Linked DNA regions of Homo sapiens: all the other regions are linked to region 3. The links are contacts of gene promoters, found by promoter capture Hi-C in blood cells and fetal thymus (Javierre and others, 2016). All regions are on one chromosome and are shown on one strand. Each heading gives the region's core, a stretch centred on a gene start or on the middle of the fragment in contact. The rest is flanking DNA. Distances are from core to core; before and after follow the strand shown. Region 1 holds the start of LOC124907821 (a long non-coding RNA gene). Region 2 overlaps GFPT1 (glutamine--fructose-6-phosphate transaminase 1). Region 3 holds the start of ANTXR1 (ANTXR cell adhesion molecule 1). Region 4 overlaps GFPT1 (glutamine--fructose-6-phosphate transaminase 1). Region 5 holds the start of NFU1 (NFU1 iron-sulfur cluster scaffold). Region 6 holds the start of PROKR1 (prokineticin receptor 1). Region 7 holds the start of GFPT1 (glutamine--fructose-6-phosphate transaminase 1).

Region 1 (2,700 bases), core at 11-2,510, 270 kb before region 3:
TGCTTCACTCCTGACTGGCATTGCCACTGATTTGATTCTTACCCAGTTAGATCACAAGCCATCTGAGGGCAGCAATGAGTCTGAACATTTTCATCACCCTCCAGCTCCTGGCACCTGGCAGGACCAATAGACTTGACACAGGAAAAAGTTGCTGCTTGCTGTTTATTGAACATTCTTTCCCCAGGAACCCTCTGTGCCTCTGGCCCTACAATTCTCATTAGAAAAGATTTTATGTTTTTTTAATTATGAAAAATGTCAGACTTACTAAAAGTTTGGAGAATAATTTATTTTTTTTTTAATTTTAATTTTTTTTTTTGAGATGGAGTCTCGCTCTGTCGCCCAGGCTGGAGTGTGGTGGTGCGATCTTGGCTCACTGCAAGCTCCGCCTCCCGGGTTCACGCCATTCTCCTGCCTCAGCCTCCCGAGTAGCTGGGACCACAGATGCCTGCCACCACGCCCGGCTAATTTTTTTGTATTTTTTTTAGTAGAGATGGGGCTTCACTGTGTTAGCCAGGATGGTCTCGATCTCCTGACCTCGTGATCCACAATAAATGCCATTTGCTTTTTTAAACTATTATATTTATGAGATGTATCCATGCAGATACCACTATCTCTAGTTCATTTTTGTGAATATGCCACCAATTGTTTATCCATCTAGGTGTTTTTATTGCTCACTATTACAAATAATGCTGCAGGGAACATTCTGATTCATGTCTCCTGGAAGGTTAGGGTATGTACACCTAGGAGCAGATTGCTCAGTTGAAGGTGATATGGTTTGGCTCTGTGTCCTCACCCAAGTCTCATCTCTAATTGTAATCCCCATGTGTGGAAGGAGTGAAGTGATTGGATTATGGGGGTGGTTTCCTCCATGCTGTTCTCGTGATAGTGAGTGAATTTTCATGAGATCTGATGGTTTTATAAATGGTAGCTTTTCCTGCGCTCTCACACTATCTCTCTACCCTGCTGCCATGTAAGACACACCTGCTTCCCCTTTCGCCATGATTGTAAGTTTCCTGAGGCCTCCCCAGCCAAGTGGAACTGTGAGTCAATTAAAAACCTCTTTCCTTTATAAATTATGCAGTCTTGAGTAGTATCTTTATAGCAGTTTGAAAACGGACTAATACAGAAGCGTAGGCCATATTTCTTGAGAAACAGGATGTGAAATGCAAACCTTCCTGTGATCTTATGGTGGAGGCCTGAACATCTGGGCCCAGTTTTTCCTGGTGAGCAGTTTTTCTTATTTTTACTGACTTGTAGGAGCTTTAAAGACGTTTTTCTGGATACCACTTCCTTGTCGGTTATACTCACTGTGAATGCCAACTTCCAGGCTGCATTTGCCTAGGATGCCTTAGTTACATCTTCTGCTTAAAAATACTTAAAAAATTCGATTTGAGTCAAATTTGTTTATCTTTTTCTTATTGCTTGTGTCTTTGGGTCTTGTGTGTGAACTTTTGTTAGAATTTCATCAAGCCCTGTTTAATGGAGAGATTTTTCTCTGACTCAATTCGGTAGTTTATTTTTAGTGGCATAATGGGTTTTAGTTTATATCATTTGTTAGGGTCCTCTAGCCAGGCCTAGCTCTATTATAATCCATGTAAACTAGTACTTAGGCCTGCAGAGATCCAAGCAGCTTCAAGGCCTGCCAGATCCATTTCATCTCATGGGTGGGGCCCTCTTCACCTGTCTCTCATCATAATCCTCCAAAAGAACCACCACAATCTAGCTCCTGAGCTTGGCTGGAATTTTTCCAACAAGGGCAGATTGAAATTCTTTTCTTGAATAGAGTTAGAAGGAGATTAATAAATAGAAAATAGGGGTCGTTTAGTTTGGATTTGGAACAAGACAGTTTTTTGGAGCAAGAACTTGCTTTGAAATCCCAGTCACATCATTAATTCTGAGTCTTTTTAAAAATCTATAATATAGGAATAATAGGACCTCAACTGAAGAATTTGTGATGAATATTAAATGTATAATTCTGGATACAGAACCACCACAACAAACAATAGTAGCTAAATTTGTTGAGTGCTTAATATGTGCTAGTCACAGAGCTAAATATTTGCATGAATTATCTCACTTGGTCTTTATGACAATCCTATTAAGTACCACTACCATGTAATATAAGGGTTAAGGTAAAGGTTTTGATCATGTTTAATTCTCAGCTCACCTACTTACTGTGTGACCTTAAGTTCTTGCATTTTGTTTTTCTTATCTGTAAAATGGAAATGTAATAACACACATATACATACAGTTGTCCGTTAGTATTTATGGGGAAATTGGTTCCATGGATATCAAAGTCTATCAGTGCTTAAGTCTCTTATATAAAATGGCTTAGGCCAGGCACAGTAGCTCAAGCCTGTAATCCCAACACTTTGGGAGGCTGAGGCAGTTGGATCGATTGAGCCCCGGAATTCAAGACCAGTCTGGGTAACAGGGCAAAACCTCATCTCTACTAAATGTACAAACATTAGCCAGGTGTGGTGGTGAGCACCTGTAATCCCAGGTACTTGGGAGCCTGAGGCAGGGAAGGTTGCCTGAGCCTAGCAGGTGGAGGTTGCAGTGAGTTGAGATTGTGCCACTACACTCCAGCCTGGGCAACAGAGGAGGTTCTGTCTCAAATTTAAAACAAAAGCTTAGTATTTGCTTAGAACCTATGCACATCCTCACTTATACTTTAAATCATTTCCAGATTACTTATAGTAC
Region 2 (2,700 bases), core at 102-2,601, 310 kb before region 3:
CTGGCCCAGATACTTAGAGCTTTAAGAAGACCAAGGTCATAGATCTCATATTGGGCAGAACCAAGACCAGAACTGAGGTCTTGGTCTCCACATCCTGTCTTCTTTTAGTTAACATATGCTGTTCCTTTTTAATTTAATACTTCTAAAACATTTAAAAATGTATTTTAAAATATTTTTAAATATATATTTCAGCTGGTTGCAGTGGCACATGACTGTAGTCCCAGCTACTCTGGGGACTGAGGCAGGAGGATCACTTGAGTCCAGGAGTTTGAATACAGCCTGGGTAGCATAGTGAGACCCTGTCTCTAAAACAGTAAATAAAATAAATTAAAAAAAATTACACACACGCGATATATTTCAGGGGAAATCTAACATCTAGGTTTTATTTTAATATTATATAATTGAGTTTTCTTCAGATCAGTTGGCTTTATATATAAATTCCAAAAGATATTATTCCCTAAGCACAATGTGGTGGTAATGAACTTGAGCTTTGAAGTTAGGCAAACCTGCAGTCAAGTACTAAGCCTGGTATTTCTTAGTTGCATGAGTTTAAACAAATTACTGGATCCCATAACGCTTCTGTTTCCTCGACTATAAGTAATAACAATCAGATTTACTACACAGGAATTTAAAGAAGTCTGTCCGTGAGGCTTCATATGGATTATGCAGTGCAATTTTTGCACATTCGTAAGCTATAGCCCTGCCTTTGCCCACCAGTGATGTTGTGTATGTGTGTGATTTTCTTTCCTAGGGGCGGCCTGTGGTAATTTGTGATAAGGAGGATACTGAGACCATTAAGAACACAAAAAGAACGATCAAGGTGCCCCACTCAGTGGACTGCTTGCAGGGCATTCTCAGCGTGATCCCTTTACAGTTGCTGGCTTTCCACCTTGCTGTGCTGAGAGGCTATGATGTAAGTCATCTACCACTGCAGAAATCTTGGGATGGTTTTTTACCTGGATACATTCTGATTTTTTTCTCCTAAATTTTTAACAATAGTGTTTGAGAAATCTATCAAATATATATCTGTCACCTGTTATATTTTCATGGCCCAATTTGTAGGTTACATCACAACATCTTCTTACCCATAGAACTTGAAGGAACCTTGGGGTTCACCTCCAAGATTGTGACTCACCTTGGGTAGTCTCCACCTGTTTTCTTAATATAACCTCTATCTCTTAACAGGGCAGCTATTGGCATTTGGCAGGACAATTCTTTTTTGTTTGGAACTGTCCCACACATTGAAGACTTTGTAGCATTCCTGGTTTCTCAGCCATTGTGGCAACCAAAACATAGTGCTTTTGTTTTTAGTGTCCCCTATGAGGGCTACTACTTCTGTAGAGGACCACAGTAGCTCTTTCTGTGTGAACTGGCACCTTTAGAATGCTTTTTCCTAACCAATTTCAGTTTTTTTCAGGACACATTATGTGATTATATTTTCTAATCTAATTCTTTGTAGTCTGTAATAAAGATGGTTAATGAATGTATTGTTTTCTGTTTTTATAAACAAAAATAATTTGCTTATAGTAACCACCCCCTTCCCCAGTCTATATAATCTCTCAAATCTTGCTTTTTTTTTTTTTCTTTTTGCAGGTTGATTTCCCACGGAATCTTGCCAAATCTGTGACTGTAGAGTGAGGAATATCTATACAAAATGTACGAAACTGTATGATTAAGCAACACAAGACACCTTTTGTATTTAAAACCTTGATTTAAAATATCACCCCTTGAAGCCTTTTTTTAGTAAATCCTTATTTATATATCAGTTATAATTATTCCACTCAATATGTGATTTTTGTGAAGTTACCTCTTACATTTTCCCAGTAATTTGTGGAGGACTTTGAATAATGGAATCTATATTGGAATCTGTATCAGAAAGATTCTAGCTATTATTTTCTTTAAAGAATGCTGGGTGTTGCATTTCTGGACCCTCCACTTCAATCTGAGAAGACAATATGTTTCTAAAAATTGGTACTTGTTTCACCATACTTCATTCAGACCAGTGAAAGAGTAGTGCATTTAATTGGAGTATCTAAAGCCAGTGGCAGTGTATGCTCATACTTGGACAGTTAGGGAAGGGTTTGCCAAGTTTTAAGAGAAGATGTGATTTATTTTGAAATTTGTTTCTGTTTTGTTTTTAAATCAAACTGTAAAACTTAAAACTGAAAAATTTTATTGGTAGGATTTATATCTAAGTTTGGTTAGCCTTAGTTTCTCAGACTTGTTGTCTATTATCTGTAGGTGGAAGAAATTTAGGAAGCGAAATATTACAGTAGTGCATTGGTGGGTCTCAATCCTTAACATATTTGCACAATTTTATAGCACAAACTTTAAATTCAAGCTGCTTTGGACAACTGACAATATGATTTTAAATTTGAAGATGGGATGTGTACATGTTGGGTATCCTACTACTTTGTGTTTTCATCTCCTAAAAGTGGTTTTTATTTCCTTGTATCTGTAGTCTTTTATTTTTTAAATGACTGCTGAATGACATATTTTATCTTGTTCTTTAAAATCACAACACAGAGCTGCTATTAAATTAATATTGATATATTCAGTATTCTCTTCAACTTTGTCACGAGGAAGAATTTCCTGTAGTTAATTTTAACTTTCCTTCATTACATTGTTGCATAAAACTAGTCCCTTAGTGCCAGTTTGGAAGTTACTTGCAATTGTTTGGAAGATTTGCAGGTCGCTGAC
Region 3 (2,700 bases), core at 69-2,568:
CTAACCACTTTTTGCAAGGAAACCAGGGCTCCTGCACCTCCCTGGTAGCCCACCAGTCAAATGGCCAAGAGCTTGAATTCACTACATCTGGGGTACTCAAGTCGAAGGGGAGGGACATTTGGCAATGTCTGGAGGCATTTTTAGTTGTCACCACTAATAAGGAAGGAGTGGGGGGCGGGGGATGTTACTGGCATCCAGTGGGCAGAGGCCAAGGATGCTGCTAAACATCCTACAACGCGCAGGACAGCCCCCACCACAAAGAATTACCAGGTTTCAATCTCAGAAGTGCCAAGGTTAAGAAACCCTGCCTTTCATTCTCACTCAGTGCCCGGTGAGAAGTATGCATTACATGATTAGGAGCAAAGATAATGCCTTCCGTGGGACAGCGTTTCAAAACAAAACAAAAAAACAAAAACAAAAACAAAATGCGACGATTGGCTTTAAAATGCCCAAGCCTCTAACTTTAGGAGTGCCTGTGCCTGCAAGTTCTGCCTTTGGTAAGCAAGCCTTTCCCACCAACACGGGAGGGAGTCACAGAAACTCAGCAAGACAATAGCATCCTCCAAGCCCCTTGCCTGCTCCTGGGACACAGAAAGCAAGACAGAAAAGAAGTCTGTCCCCTTCCGAGCAAGCGGCGTCGCCTCGGCTGCGGGCTCTGGAGCCGAGGCTGGGAGGAGCGCGCCCCAACAAAGGCGCAGCACTCCGCCGCCGCCTGCCGCGCGGTCCCTCTGTGGCCCTGGAGATGCGCTCCTGTCCCCAGGCGACCCTGCCAACGAGCCCGGCCCGGGGCGAAAGCGTTTTCGCCCGCTTAGCCTGGGGTGGGGGGGACAACTCGCGGCACTTACTTGTCCAAAATGAAGTACAGGTCAAATCCGCCGTAGCAGGCTGGACCCCCATCCTCCCTGCGTCCCCCTTGCCCGGCGCAGATGAGCACCAGAGTGGCCAAAGAGAGCCACTGGAAGCCGATGCCGAGGGCTCTCCGCTCCGCCGTGGCCATGGCCCGCAGCCCGGGGAGAGCAGGGTCCGCTCCTTCCCACGCTCCGCGAACTCGCCACGACCCTCAGGGACGCGCCATCCGCGGGCCCTTCCTCGCGGGTCCTTTATTCCCCCTCGCTCCCTCGCAACTCCCCGGAAGCAATTGTCTGGAGGAGTTCAAGGTTTCCCCTCTGGTTTCCGCTCCGATGCTGTTTCTGGGTTTCGGGTTTCAAGGATCCCAATCCTGTCCTCCGCTTCTTTTAAAGGGGAGGGCTGCCTCGGTCCGGGGCCGCCGGGCAGCTCCCGAGGCCGCGCCGAGCTTTTGCAATGGAAGGAGTTCCGTCCCGACGGTTCTTTGTCCCAGATTTTAAATATGATGGGGGGGGGGGGGGGTTTCAAATTGTTCTTGGTGGGGGCAGTGCTTTGCCTTCTCTCCTTCCTCTCTGCCCCCCTTTCGCGTTCTTACGGGGAAGAAAGTTCAAAGGCTGCCACCTTGTGGACAAAGGCGGCGAAAGCACGCGTGGGACCCGCGGGAGTGCGTCGGGGGCGGGGGCGCTTCCAGGCTTCGCGTATAAATTTCCTTGTCCTTACCATTCTCATGTGAGCTGTGCGTGTTTTCTTACTCCTTCCTTCTTCCCACGCACTTTCCCTTTCTTTTTCCGTGACCGCCTCTCCATTCTCTGTAGTCCTTCTATTCCTTCTTTTCCTTCCCTATCCTGCATCTTTTGATAAGGTCACTAAACATTGGATGAGAATTTGTTTCCTCCAACCACGGTGACTCCGGCTCCCCAGGCTAGGACCTTTGCAAACAAACCATTGTGCAGATGAAGTAGGGGAAAAACGGGACCTTTGTGGTATGAGTCATCAGAGTGACCTTACATGGTCTTAGTCTGTCTGGACCATAAAAGAGACTGTTGGGGTCCGGTCTGAAACCATCACAAACAACCCCACAGAGTGTGGTACTTAGGGCTGCTCCCGGCATGGAACAGCTGAGCCTTCTAGATGGCCACCATCTCCATCTTTTAGGGATTCTATGATAATAGTTCTTCTTTTCAGCCTGTGAACTTTGACATTTTCTCTCTATCTTTGATTTAGGATGGAGGAAGTAAACAGCTTACAAGAGTAGAGACGCTCCAAGCAGTTTGGAATTGGCAGGGAAGTTCCGTGCTAGCCTCTCTAAATTGGAGAATCAGCCTCTGAGCCCCAGTTCCGAGTGGTACCCCAGTTCTAGCTTCCTATTGTCTTCCGCTCTGGGAGCCCTCAGTGCATATGCATGTACTGTTTTCCCAGGATTCTTCCTCCAGACACACATATTCCCCTCCACTTGTGTGCCTCCCAGACCCTTATACCCCAATGTGACAGTCCATGGTGGTTTCCCCCAACATGTGTACCATGGAATCTTAGTGTCTTGGAATGCTCCACTAACCAATAATCATGTTGTCAAATCAGCCTTGAAGATTTGTCATGCGTAGCACTGACCTGCCTCCAAAATGAACCCAGTGTTTCTCACCTCCTGGAATTCACACCCCTTCCACCTTGGGTGAGACTGACCTGTGAGTAATTAAGAAGATGGTGTGTGGCTTCTGAGGATAGGCCATGAGAGATGTTGTGGTTTTTCCCTTCTCTCTTGGATCACTCACTGTAGGAGAGCCCACTGCCATGTCGTGAGAACACACAAGCAGCCCCAAGGAGGGGTCCGTGTGGTAAGGAACTGAGACCCCTGCT
Region 4 (2,700 bases), core at 198-2,697, 330 kb before region 3:
CTCTGAGATACTGCAGAGTGATAGAGTTTATATTGAAATTTGGTTCTTGTATCCAAATGATAGTTTCATTTGTAATAATGATCCTTGGTTATCGATTGTAATATCTCCTTGAAAACTTTATAGTGCTGTCATAGAACACACCAATCGCGTCATCTTTCTGGAAGATGATGATGTTGCAGCAGTAGTGGATGGACGTCTTTCTATCCATCGAATTAAACGAACTGCAGGAGATCACCCCGGACGAGCTGTGCAAACACTCCAGATGGAACTCCAGCAGATCATGAAGGGTGAAAGTTTTTGTCATGTTATAGCTTGCTGTCCTTACTGGAAAGAATATATTCTACTTCCTTTCCTAGCATATTAAATCTAGTAATGAATGATGAGTGGAATCTTCCACATGATTAGTGAAGGGACAACGCTAGGAAAAGGGATGATTCTTTAGAGAAATTATCTGCTGTTTTTACAATCGTCTTCAAACTAATTAATGATTTGTTATTTGTAACATTATAAAAAGGTTATTAACACTTGATACTTTAAAGATACTTTATAAACATAAAAATAGTTAATGTTCTGTTCCTTTTTATTCTCTTTGTGCTTTAGTTTTCTTATATATAACATGAGGATAATATAGCCTGCCTCATTAAGGTTGTTTTGAGGATTAAGAAGCTACTATATGGCTGGGTGCGGTGGCTCACACCTGTAATCTTAGCACTTTGGGAGGCCGAGGTGGGCAGATCACCTAAGGTGGGGAGTTTGAGACCAGTCTGGCCTTGCCAACGTGGAGAAACCCCGACTGTACTAAAAAATACAAAATTAGCTGGGTGTGGTGGCGCATGCCTGTAATCCCAGCTACTCGGGAGGCTGAGGCAGGAGAATGGCTTGAACCCGGGAGGCAGAGGTTTCAGTGAGCCGAGATTGCGCCATTGCACTCCAGCCTTGGCAACAAGAGCAAAACTCTGTCTCAAAAAAAAAAAAAAGAAGCTTAAAACAGTGTCTGACACACTTAGTCGTATGTAATATTTGCTTCTGTTAACTATTATAATTATTATGATTTGGATTATTTTATTCCTTTCTGATGGGATTGTGGTAGGAATAAAAACTAACATTGGCCAGGCACGGTGGCTCATGCCTGTAATCTCAACACTTAGGGAGGCCAAGGTAGGAGGATCACTTGAGCTCAGGAGTTTGAGACCAGCCTGGGCAACATAGTGAGACCTTATCTCTACTACAAACTAAAAAAAAAAAAAGTCCAGGTGCACTGGCTCACACCTGTAATCCTAGCACTTTGGGAGGCTGAAGCAGGCAGATTGCCAGAGCTCAGGAGTTCAAGACCAGCCTCAGCAACATAGCAAAACCCTGTTTCTACTAAAAATACAAAGAAAATTATGGGCATGGTGGCATGTACCTGTAGTCTCAGTGACTGGGGAGGCTGAGGTGGGAGAATCACTTGAACCCAGGAGGCAGAGGTTGCAGTGAGGTGAGATCGTGCCGCTGCACTCCAGCCTGGGCGACAGAGTGAGACTCTGTCTCAAACAAAACAAAACAAAACAAAACAAAACTATGAGCCGGGCATGGTAGTGTGTGCCTGTAGTCTCAGCTACTCAGGTGGCTGAGGTGTGAGAATTGCTTGAGCCCAGGAGATTGAGGCTGCAGTGAGCGGTGATCTTGCGGTGATCACTTCAGTCTGGGTGACAAAGACCCTGTCTCAAAAAAAAAAGTAAAAATAAGAAATAACATTTATTGCATAACTCTATATATATATATGTCAGATTTTTTGCTTTATTAATCCATACTACAATCCATACTGTGAAGTAATTGGTCTCTTATTTTATAGATTAATAATTTCCCCAGTTTAGATAGTAAAGGATAGAACTACAGTTTGGGTGGGTTGCACTCCAAAACTTAAAGCTTGTCCCAGTTGACTGAGTGCGGTGGCTCACGCCTGTAATCCCAGCACTTTGGGAGGCCGAGGTGGTTGGATCATGAGGTCAGGAGTTCGAGACCAGCCTGGTCAGTATGGTGAAACCTTGTCTCTACTAAAAATACAAAAAATTAGCCGGGCGTGGTAGCACACGCCTGTAGTCACAGCTACTCAGGAGGCTGAGGCAGGGGAATCCCTTGAATCCAGGAGGCCAAGATTGCAGTGAGCCTACATCATGCCACTCCACTCCAGCCTGGGTGACAGAGCAAGACTCCGTCTCAAAAAAAAAAAAGCTTGTCTCATTCACTTGTTGTAACTGCACATTTCAAGTATGAAGTTAATTAAAAGTGACTTTTACTGTTATTTTTTTCCACAGAGTAAAATATGTTCACCCAATCTTTTAGGCAGTCATGTCTATTGCATGAACTTTTGTTATATTTTATTTACCAAGATTATATTAAAGGAAACTTTTAGTTGTGTACAAATTCTTTTATTTGATTTGTTTTTGTTTTAATTATGTGATTTCTATTACTATAGGCAACTTCAGTTCATTTATGCAGAAGGAAATATTTGAGCAGCCAGAGTCTGTCGTGAACACAATGAGAGGAAGAGTCAACTTTGATGACTATACTGGTAATTACATATGAATTATTTTATTATTTCAGTGTCTCTGACAGTAGGAGGTGCCATTAACAACCTGAAAGTTCATTGCCCTTAATAGCCTTGTAGAACAACTACAGCTGCCAGCCATCAGTGGAGCCCAGCCATCTTGGAAAAAG
Region 5 (2,700 bases), core at 26-2,525, 420 kb before region 3:
ATTACTAGGGTTGTCTTGGGTGTGGCCTCAACCTGTTCAACAACAGGTGTGCTGTTTCCATTCTGGAAACCAGTCCTCTGTCTTCCAGAACAGTGATTCTCAAATTTTAGCTGGCATCAGAATCCTGGGAAGGGTTTGTTAAAACACTACTAGGCAGGGTGAGGTAACCTAAGAGCTTTTGGAGGCCCAGGTGAGAGGGATCACTTGAGGCCAGCAGAGTTCAAGAGCAGCCCAGGCAACACAGGGAGACCTCTTCTCTACAAAAATACTACTACTACTACTGCTAATAAAAGCCAGGCACCGTGGCTCACACCTGTAATCCCAGTGCTTTGGGAGGCTGAGGCTGGAGGATGAATCACTTGAGCCCAGGAGTTGGTTTTGGTGAGCTATGATCGCACTCCTGCTCTCCAGCCTGGGCAACAGAGATAGACCCTGTCTCTGGAAAAAGAAAAAAAAAAAAAGCAAGTAACAAAGATTTCTAGTCCCCACCTACAGAGATTGTGCCTCAGTAAGTATAAAGTGGGGCCCAGGATTTCTAACATGTTCTAACGTGCATTTCTAACGTGTTCTCCTGCTTTTTTTTGGCCCCTAGTCCGCACTTTGAGAACCGTTGTCCTAGAGAAAACGGAATACTCCAGGAAGGTTCTGGAAGAATAGGTAATGGGCTTTGGCACTCTGCCCTGGAAACTAGTCAAGTCTCATGTTAATCGGAGAAGGGCAGCACTGTACCAGATACATCCTCTGTGCGGGTTGGTCCAAGATGACCAAGTGGCAGCTGACAAGCACAGCTATGAGGAAGGGTTAGACACAGTTCCACATCAGACCCATGGGAAAAGGGCAGGAGAAATGCGAGAACCTTTTAGAAGGAATGCTCCAGGGAGTCTTTGGGGGCAGTCACTGAGCTGGGCCTGGAGGCTGAGTAGGGTCCTAGAGGAGGGAATGGGTCAGGTTTAGGGGCTGGAAACAGCATTCGCAAGGCAGCACCAGCACCAGCTAAAAACCTAGCCAACAGGGAAAACAAAGTACGGAAACACGCATGCGTTCACAGTGCTGCGTGAATTAACCAAGCGTTGGCGCAAACGGGAAAGGTTCCCCGGCCTCTCTTGGTCAGGGTGACGCAGTAGCCTGCAAACCTCGGCGCGTAGGCCACCGCACTTATCCGCAGCAGGACCGCCCGCAGCCGGTAGGGTGGGCTCTTCCCAGTGCCCGCCCAGCTACCGGCCAGCCTGCGGCTGCGCAGATCTTTCGTGGTTCTGTCAGGGAGACCCTTAGGCACTCCGGACTAAGATGGCGGCGACGGCCAGGCGGGGCTGGGGAGCTGCGGCTGTTGCCGCCGGGCTGCGCAGGCGGTAGGTGACGAGCCTGGAGCTCCGAATAGGTGTGCCGCTGGGCTTAGCCAGCGGAGCGGTCGCCGCCTTGCAGACCCTCTCTCGAGGCGGGTGGGTAGTGCATCTGATGGAGCCGGCGGGTCCGCCCTGTCGCCGTAGTTGGGGGTGAGCCCTGAGGCTGTCTGTGCGGGAGCTCGGCGCTTCTGTGGCCTAATCCGGGCGGACTCTCTGGAGCTTCCTCTCAGGCTCAGAGACCCAGTTCTTGAGTCTCTGCGGTACGGAAGCTTGTAGAGACTGGCTGTAGAGCCAGAACGGAGGAGCTGTTTTAAAATCGTGTGCCTCTCCCGCCCCCAGGCCCTCTACCGGGTGCATTCCCTCCTCTTCTAAACGCAGAATCAGAATGTCACACAGAAGGGAAGAAAATACCTTGTCTCGTTTCCTCATTTTCCCAGTAAGGCCCTGAAAGAGGAGGTGACATGTCCAAGGTTACACAGTTTCTAAGTGATGGAATTCCGACGAGAACCAGGACCCCTAGATTCCCTGCACCCACCACCATTAAGCCCACTCTGTTCCCTTGTTTTTTCCGCCTCCCTGAGCCCTACCTTTGAGTTTCACCTTTCAAAGACTTCTGTGAACATTGCTAAGAGGACATTTATGTAGGTGTACCTTAATTTTACGTCTGGAGAAAATGGCCTACGGAGAGTTTGCCCTCTAGAGTATTAGACATTGTAGTGTTAATGGTGCTCTTGAAGTTTAAATGTATATCCTAAAAAGATTTAAGTTGGTAGAATTTTTTGTTAGTTACCTCCTGTGTTTGAGTAGATGTCTTCCTTGAATAATGTAATCCACTCTTACTTTAAAAAAACAAGACTTTAAACCTGTATGTTGGAATGTGCTTCCTCTTTATTCATTCTGCTGCCTTTTCCCTGGGCTGAAGGGACGAGAATATTATTCTTCTAGTGCATTTCCAAATTCCAGAGTATTCACAGATTTAGATACTGAGCTATAGAAAAAGGCATTTTTACCCCAAACCTTGAACTGCACTCAATTAGTAATTATTGGGCACCAATTAAATAATGGTAGCAGCTGCCATTTATTGAGCACTTACTGCATGGCCTGGCACTGGTTTAAGCACTTTACATGGATTCTCTGGATTATTTATGAGGTAGCTGTGAAACTAATCTCATTGTAGAGATGAAGAACTGAGGCCATTGTGCTAGCAGCTAGAAATGAAGATAGTTTCTCCCCTTAATGAGTATGCAGTCTAGCAAGAAAAATATATTAACAAATAATGACAGTCATGAGTGCTGTAATAGATTCATGTAATTTAAAGTGGTGTGCCGGGCGTGGTGGCTCACGCCTGTAATCCCAG
Region 6 (2,700 bases), core at 175-2,674, 370 kb after region 3:
ATGTCTGCACAGCCTGGAGCTCCCTGGAGGAGAGTGTTACACCCTAGAACTGCAAGGAGTTACTACTGCGCTCTCAGGCCTCCTCTGTCAGCTGCAAGGAAGGGGAGCGAAATCCTGATACAGGGACTCCACCACACCACATAATGGGGCTGGGGTGAGGGGTCTAGGGGGGTGTCAGCTGCCCTGGTGGGGACAGGGAGGCAGCCAGAGTCCCCCTGTCCCCTGCTCTCTCCCTGCAGTCCCTCCCAAACCCTGAAGACATCAGACCAGGGAGTGGGACGTAGAAGGAGGGCTGAGGTCTGGAGAGCACCCTAAAACAAATGTCAGGAGAACAGAGGGAAGAATGCAAGCCAGAGTTTTCCTGGGAAAGGAAGATGAGGAAGATGCCCAGGACCCCACCTCCCCACCCCCAGGAAAGCCTGCTCTCCATATTCCTCCGAGGCAAAACATCTGGAGCCTGTCTTCTTGGGGCCAAGTTTAAAGTCCCTCTGCGCCCCAGTGAGGCTCAGCCCCATTGCTGCCTCTCTGTCCTAACTCCTTACCCTGATTTTTTCCTTCCTCCGAGCTCTCAATTCTGTCTGGCTCAGCCCTTGCCCTCTGCCCACTCAGGGAGGAGAGGCAGAACTCAGCTGAAAAGAAGGAGGGGGGCAGGCTTGGAACCCAGGCGGGACAAGCCCCACTCCTTGCAGGTCCCGTGGGTCGCAGAGGCATGCCACTCCTGGAGGGGTACCCCTACAAGCATGCTACCTGAAGGGTCAAAGTAGTGTTTAAAAGCAAAGAATACAGAAGCTTCGGGGGTGGAGAGGAGGGCGTCACGAGATTAAGGATGATTGTCCAGAGGTCTTTTCTCCTTTATTCTCACCGTTCAGAGGGGAACCCCAATCCTACCCCCACCTGGTGACCTCTCGATCGCTAGAAGCCTCTCTCACAAACCCCTGCTGGCAAGTCCCCCGCCTGCTCCCAACTTTCTCCCTGGAGCCTGGGCAGCTTCCCCTAAGGACAGAGGAGGGGAAGCCTGGCTCTCCTGAAGAAACTCACAGGAGTGAATCCCTGGCAAAGTCCCCTCTTCACTCAGAAGCCGCCGCACCCCACGGCCGCAGCCAGTGCAGCGCGGGGTCCCTGGAGCATCCTCCCCGGGAGGGCGCGCTCTGTACCTGCGGCATCGCGGAGCCCGGCAGGCAAGGTCCGGGTTTCTTATTCCGGGGCCGGATCAGGAGACGCTTCTTCCAGAAGCCGGCAGGCGAAGGGCAGGTCCCCGCTCCCTTCCTCCTCTGCTCGGGGCTCTTTCCCGGCTCTGGCGGGGGAGTTACCTTCGCGCCGCCGCTGCAGATCCCCCGACCCGGCCCGCGCCGGACTCCCTGTCCCCGCCTCCGGTGGCCGTGAGGCGCCGAGGTGCGGGCTCTTGGCGAGGCGTGTCGCCAGCTGGGCTGCAGAGGCCGGGATCGCCCTGGGCGGGAGCGTCCGGATCGCCCTGGGCGGGAGCGTCTGGAGCTCCCAGGCGGCAGCTCGCGACGAGGACGCGCGGGAGGGAGCCGGGCCAGGCGGGCTGCGCGTTGCCCGGCTCAGGCTTCGGAACGGCCGCCTGGGGCAGGAACGGGGTCGCTGGGGCTCCGGGCAGGGCTCTGCGTCAATCCCGCGCCGGGGGCACCCATGCAGGGCGGCTGTGCCCGCCTCGGGGCACGGGGCTCCTCGGCGGCTCACCTTGGCAGCCCAGCGCCGTCGGAGTGGACGGACACGGCCCCGCTCAGCCGCGAGCTTGCAAAGGACCGAGGAGCCTCCCCCGCTGCTCACACACCTCCTCAGGGGACACTCAGGGGCCGGCCCCAACCTGGTCCCCTGGGCCAGCCTGAACGGACACCAGGGCCATCTTTGTTGCCAGCTGCCCTACCTCTCCGTAAAAGAGGCTCAGAGAAGTGCTTTCTGGAGAGCAAACAAGGGGGCGGGGTAGCACACTGGAGAGAGGAAGGACCCCCGCCCAGGGATGTCTGCTTAGAAGGCTGGGACGGACAGCGCTGACTTACAGAGCACAGTCTACCTTTACAAGCCCATAGATTCCTCAAAACGTGAGGCATATAGTCCCGCAATCCCACTCCAAGGTATGTAACCCCAAACTATTGAAAGCAGGGACACACATACACTGATGTTCATGGCAGCACTATTCACAGTAGCCAAAAGACAGAAACAACCCAAATGTCCATCAGCTAAGTGGATTAACAAAATACATATAGTATATACATGCAATAGAATATTATCCAGCTGTAAAAAGAAATGATAACAAGTGTTGGTGAGAATGTGGAGAAACTGGAACCCTGTGCACTGTCGGTAGGAAAGTAAAATGGTGAAGCCACTGTAGAAAACAGTATAGGGTTTCCTCAAAAAGTTAAAAAATACAATTACCATATGATCGAGTGTTTCCACTTCCGGGTGTCTAACCCAAAAAATTAAAAGCAGGGTGATACGGTTTGGCTGTGTCCCCACCCAAATCTCAACTTGAATTGTATCTCCCAGAATTCCCACGTATTGTGGGAGGGACCCAGGGGAAGGTAATTGAATCATGGGAGCCTGTTTTTCCCATGCTATTCTCGTGATAGTGAATAAGCCTGACGAGATCCTGTGGGTTTATCAGGGGTTTCCACTTTTGCTTCTCCCTCAGTTTCCTCTTGATGCTACCACGTAAGGAATGCCTTTCACCTCCTGCCT
Region 7 (2,700 bases), core at 192-2,691, 370 kb before region 3:
TATAACCAGCCATAGAAGGTTAATTCCGCTAAGAAAATAGGACTTTTTTTCACTCATTCCAAAATAAATTTGATCTTTTACTTTGTGCTGTGGTCTAAAAGTGTTGGGTATGTAAAATCTAGTTCTAGCTTCAAGAAACTTACAGCCCAGTGGGAAAATACAGAAAATCATAAAATATCAAAGAATATTTCTTTACAGTGAGTAGCTCAAAGAGTAAGAGGTTAATGCATGTCTCCAAGTCTGTCTAGGGGGGATAAAAAAGGCTTTCCTGAAGAGGTAGCATCTAAACAGAGACGTGGTGGGGATTCTATGCAGAGTAACCAAAGTGTGCAAAAGATTTGAGAATCTTGGCCCAGTTGAGGAACTACCTGTTGAGCCTGTTGGGAGTGTATAGGGCTGGAAGGACGGCTAAGACCAGACACATGAACAGCAGTCAGCAGGCTAAGACCAGACACATGAACAGCAGTCAGCACTCCAGGAATTCTGTGTGCCATGTACGTTTTTGATACTACTCTACTCTAGAGCCATTATAGAGTTCTGATTACTCCACATTTGACTAAAGATACCATTTAAGGCTGTTTAAAGCAAATGCCCAGGTAATAAATTCTCAGAAACATCATCCCTCTCTAATCAAGTCTCTCTTGTCAGACATGGCGCATTAATTCATAGAATGAATCGTTCGTAAGTCAAACGCGCGGCTGTTAAAGCTAGGGAATTCCTAGCCGTCTCAGGTGGGTCATGGGAGGAGGTGGGCCAGCAGTTTCTTACGTCCAGGCTCATAGTCGGATAGTTGAGCCTTACATTCCTCCTCTACCCCTCCACAATAAACTGAGGGTTATGGAGGCAACGGATGCGGAGGGCTTTTAGGGGCCAAGCATATTACACAAGGAATTGAATTGCTTATTACCAGAGAGGCTGACCTTTGGGGCTTTACAGTCAAGAATTTTGTTATCTCTCTCCTCCCACCTCAACCTAATTCTTTGCAATTTTTTTCAGCCTTATGTTCCCCAGGATTCCCTTTTCATACTTCCTGCTTTTTTCCTCCTCTTTCCTCGCTTCGTGCAGTGCTGGCGCCTGGGGCCTGGGGCTGCACGGGGCACGCACCCGGGCTATTGCTTTGCTAACAATTCCATCCTTCTCTTTCCGTCATTCCCTGCCAGGTGCTGAGTTTCTCCCTCCCTCTCGGCTCGGTCCCTCCCGCGGCTCGCCCCGGGGCGGGCGTCTCCAGGAACTCCAGGCGGACGCGGCCACGAGCCACTGCCACGTCGCCGCCGCCAGCAGTCCAGCGCCTGCGTGGGCTCGGGGGGCGGGGCAGCGCTGGGAGGCGGGACTTGCGCGTGAGCGGCGCGTGAGCGGTTCAATGGAGCCTACGGGCGGCGGCGCGCTGCGCGCCGAGGGGCGGGGCCCGGCGGCGGTTGCTGGCGGAGCCCGGGAGGCGGAGAAGGCTGTCGTTGCCTTGGCCGTCGCATCCCCGAGGGAGTCGTGTCGGCGCCACCCCGGCCCCCGAGCCCGCAGATTGCCCACCGAAGCTCGTGTGTGCACCCCCGATCCCGCCAGCCACTCGCCCCTGGCCTCGCGGGCCGTGTCTCCGGCATCATGTGTGGTAAGGGGGCCGGGAGCGGGGGGCGTGTTGCCGGGTGGCGCTGGGGTGCGGTGCGGGTGCCGCTAAGGCCCAAGGCGACGGGCGGAAGCGGGAGTGTGGAGGGTGCGAAGTCTGGGTGATGGGCAAGGGGCGCCCAGTGGTGGCTGCGGGGGCGGGGGCCGGCATCCACGGGCGGGAGAGGGGGTGGCGGCCGGGAGAAAGGCACCTGAGAGGAAGGCGGGCCCCCTTTGCCGGGGGCTAGCGGGCGCCTTGGCGCGGAGAAGGAACCGAAAGGGGAGAGAAACGCCTTTATTGAAAAAGGAGGAGAGAGCTGAGGGAATTGAGGTGTGGAGGGGGTTGCCTTCAAAAGGGCCCACCAGGTGAGTGAGGAAACCTGTGGAACCTCGGGCGAGGTCTCTTGAACTTACCTTGCATTTTTCTAAAAATCTTTAAAAAAATATTTTACTTGTTTCTGGGGAGGCCCAATAGAAAACAGACCCTAGCTAGAGCCACGGTAGTGCCATTAAACGTGATACTTCCTGCCATCCCTTGTCTCAACAGAAACCATTGCTAATCAATAACTTGGTTCATGGGCTTAGACCTGATCCTCTGGTGGAAGAGGCCTTCAAATGTCTGTGGCGATAGGTTATACATAATTTATCATTTGCGTGTGCACCCATTAAAAATGCCAGCTCTGAAAAATATCAGTTATACCTTGGATGTATACCCCTTTAGAATACCAACTATGAAAAATATCATTTATCCCTTGCATGTGCATCCATTAAAAATACTAGCTATGGAAAGTTGAGCAAATATCTTTCCTAGAGCCTTAAAAAATTAAGGTTAGGCCCTTTTATTCCATGTTTTGAGAGTCGTTTATTATGACCTAAGTGTTAGTGAAAGAGACTTTGAGAATCGTGTCTGACATGACTGATATCTTCTAAAATTGGTGTTAATTTGGCTATTGCCAGTAAAAATAATTGTATTCTTACCTTTCTTATTGAAATTTACAACCGACTTTATCCCTGGAAGAAAGTACACTTTTTTTTTTTTTTTTTAAAGGGAAGTACCATTGTAAGAGAATTGAAAACTCTCTGGGAGACTTCTTATTTGCAGCC

The links. The method cuts DNA at HindIII sites, captures the fragments that hold promoters and counts their contacts. A CHiCAGO score of 5 or more calls a contact.
Region 1: a fragment that was not itself captured here is called in contact with the fragment with the promoter of ANTXR1 in region 3 in 6 of 17 cell types (M1 macrophages, megakaryocytes, M2 macrophages and 3 more); the score reaches 7.5 in M1 macrophages.
Region 2: a contact is called between a fragment that was not itself captured here and the fragment with the promoter of ANTXR1 in region 3, in 8 of 17 cell types (M2 macrophages, M1 macrophages, neutrophils and 5 more). The highest score is 15.9, in M2 macrophages.
Region 4: a fragment that was not itself captured here is called in contact with the fragment with the promoter of ANTXR1 in region 3 in 4 of 17 cell types (endothelial precursors, M0 macrophages, M1 macrophages and 1 more); the score reaches 9.8 in endothelial precursors.
Region 5: the fragment with the promoter of NFU1 here is called in contact with the fragment with the promoter of ANTXR1 in region 3 in 3 of 17 cell types (M1 macrophages, endothelial precursors and M0 macrophages); the score reaches 7.4 in M1 macrophages.
Region 6: a contact is called between the fragment with the promoter of PROKR1 here and the fragment with the promoter of ANTXR1 in region 3, in 5 of 17 cell types (total CD4 T cells, fetal thymus, total B cells and 2 more). The highest score is 6.9, in total CD4 T cells.
Region 7: the fragment with the promoter of GFPT1 here is called in contact with the fragment with the promoter of ANTXR1 in region 3 in 1 of 17 cell types (endothelial precursors); the score reaches 5.0 in endothelial precursors.

Annotation. Positions count from the first base shown.
Region 1 is chr2:69,284,558-69,287,257 of GRCh38, reverse strand. It overlaps LOC124907821 (a long non-coding RNA gene), which reads right to left and starts at 437. Exons shown (of 2, transcript XR_007086810.1): 1 at 1-437. The HindIII fragment of the contact is 2,743 bases long and covers 1-2,631 here.
Region 2 is chr2:69,325,127-69,327,826 of GRCh38, reverse strand. It overlaps GFPT1 (glutamine--fructose-6-phosphate transaminase 1), which reads left to right. Exons shown (of 20, transcript NM_001244710.2): 19 at 752-913; 20 at 1,594-2,700. The coding sequence ends at 1,638. Among named protein-coding and RNA genes, the nearest start is that of GFPT1, 61 kb to the left of the region's middle. The HindIII fragment of the contact is 9,540 bases long and covers 1-2,700 here.
Region 3 is chr2:69,011,797-69,014,496 of GRCh38, reverse strand. ANTXR1 (ANTXR cell adhesion molecule 1) reads right to left here and starts at 1,318. Exons shown (of 18, transcript NM_032208.3): 1 at 846-1,318. The coding sequence starts at 997. The HindIII fragment of the contact is 7,309 bases long and covers 1-2,700 here.
Region 4 is chr2:69,345,758-69,348,457 of GRCh38, reverse strand. GFPT1 (glutamine--fructose-6-phosphate transaminase 1) reads left to right here. Exons shown (of 20, transcript NM_001244710.2): 11 at 124-287; 12 at 2,459-2,554. Among named protein-coding and RNA genes, the nearest start is that of GFPT1, 40 kb to the left of the region's middle. The HindIII fragment of the contact is 927 bases long and covers 984-1,910 here.
Region 5 is chr2:69,436,010-69,438,709 of GRCh38, reverse strand. NFU1 (NFU1 iron-sulfur cluster scaffold) reads left to right here and starts at 1,275. Exons shown (of 8, transcript NM_001002755.4): 1 at 1,275-1,349. The coding sequence starts at 1,288. RefSeq lists an enhancer at 1,270-1,419. The HindIII fragment of the contact is 2,434 bases long and covers 1-1,614 here.
Region 6 is chr2:68,642,303-68,645,002 of GRCh38, reverse strand. PROKR1 (prokineticin receptor 1) reads right to left here and starts at 1,424. Exons shown (of 3, transcript NM_138964.4): 1 at 1,155-1,424. The HindIII fragment of the contact is 2,701 bases long and covers 792-2,700 here.
Region 7 is chr2:69,385,968-69,388,667 of GRCh38, reverse strand. GFPT1 (glutamine--fructose-6-phosphate transaminase 1) reads left to right here and starts at 1,441. Exons shown (of 20, transcript NM_001244710.2): 1 at 1,441-1,603. The coding sequence starts at 1,597. RefSeq lists silencers at 1,022-1,131, 1,192-1,861 and an enhancer at 1,090-1,649. The HindIII fragment of the contact is 6,543 bases long and covers 1-2,700 here.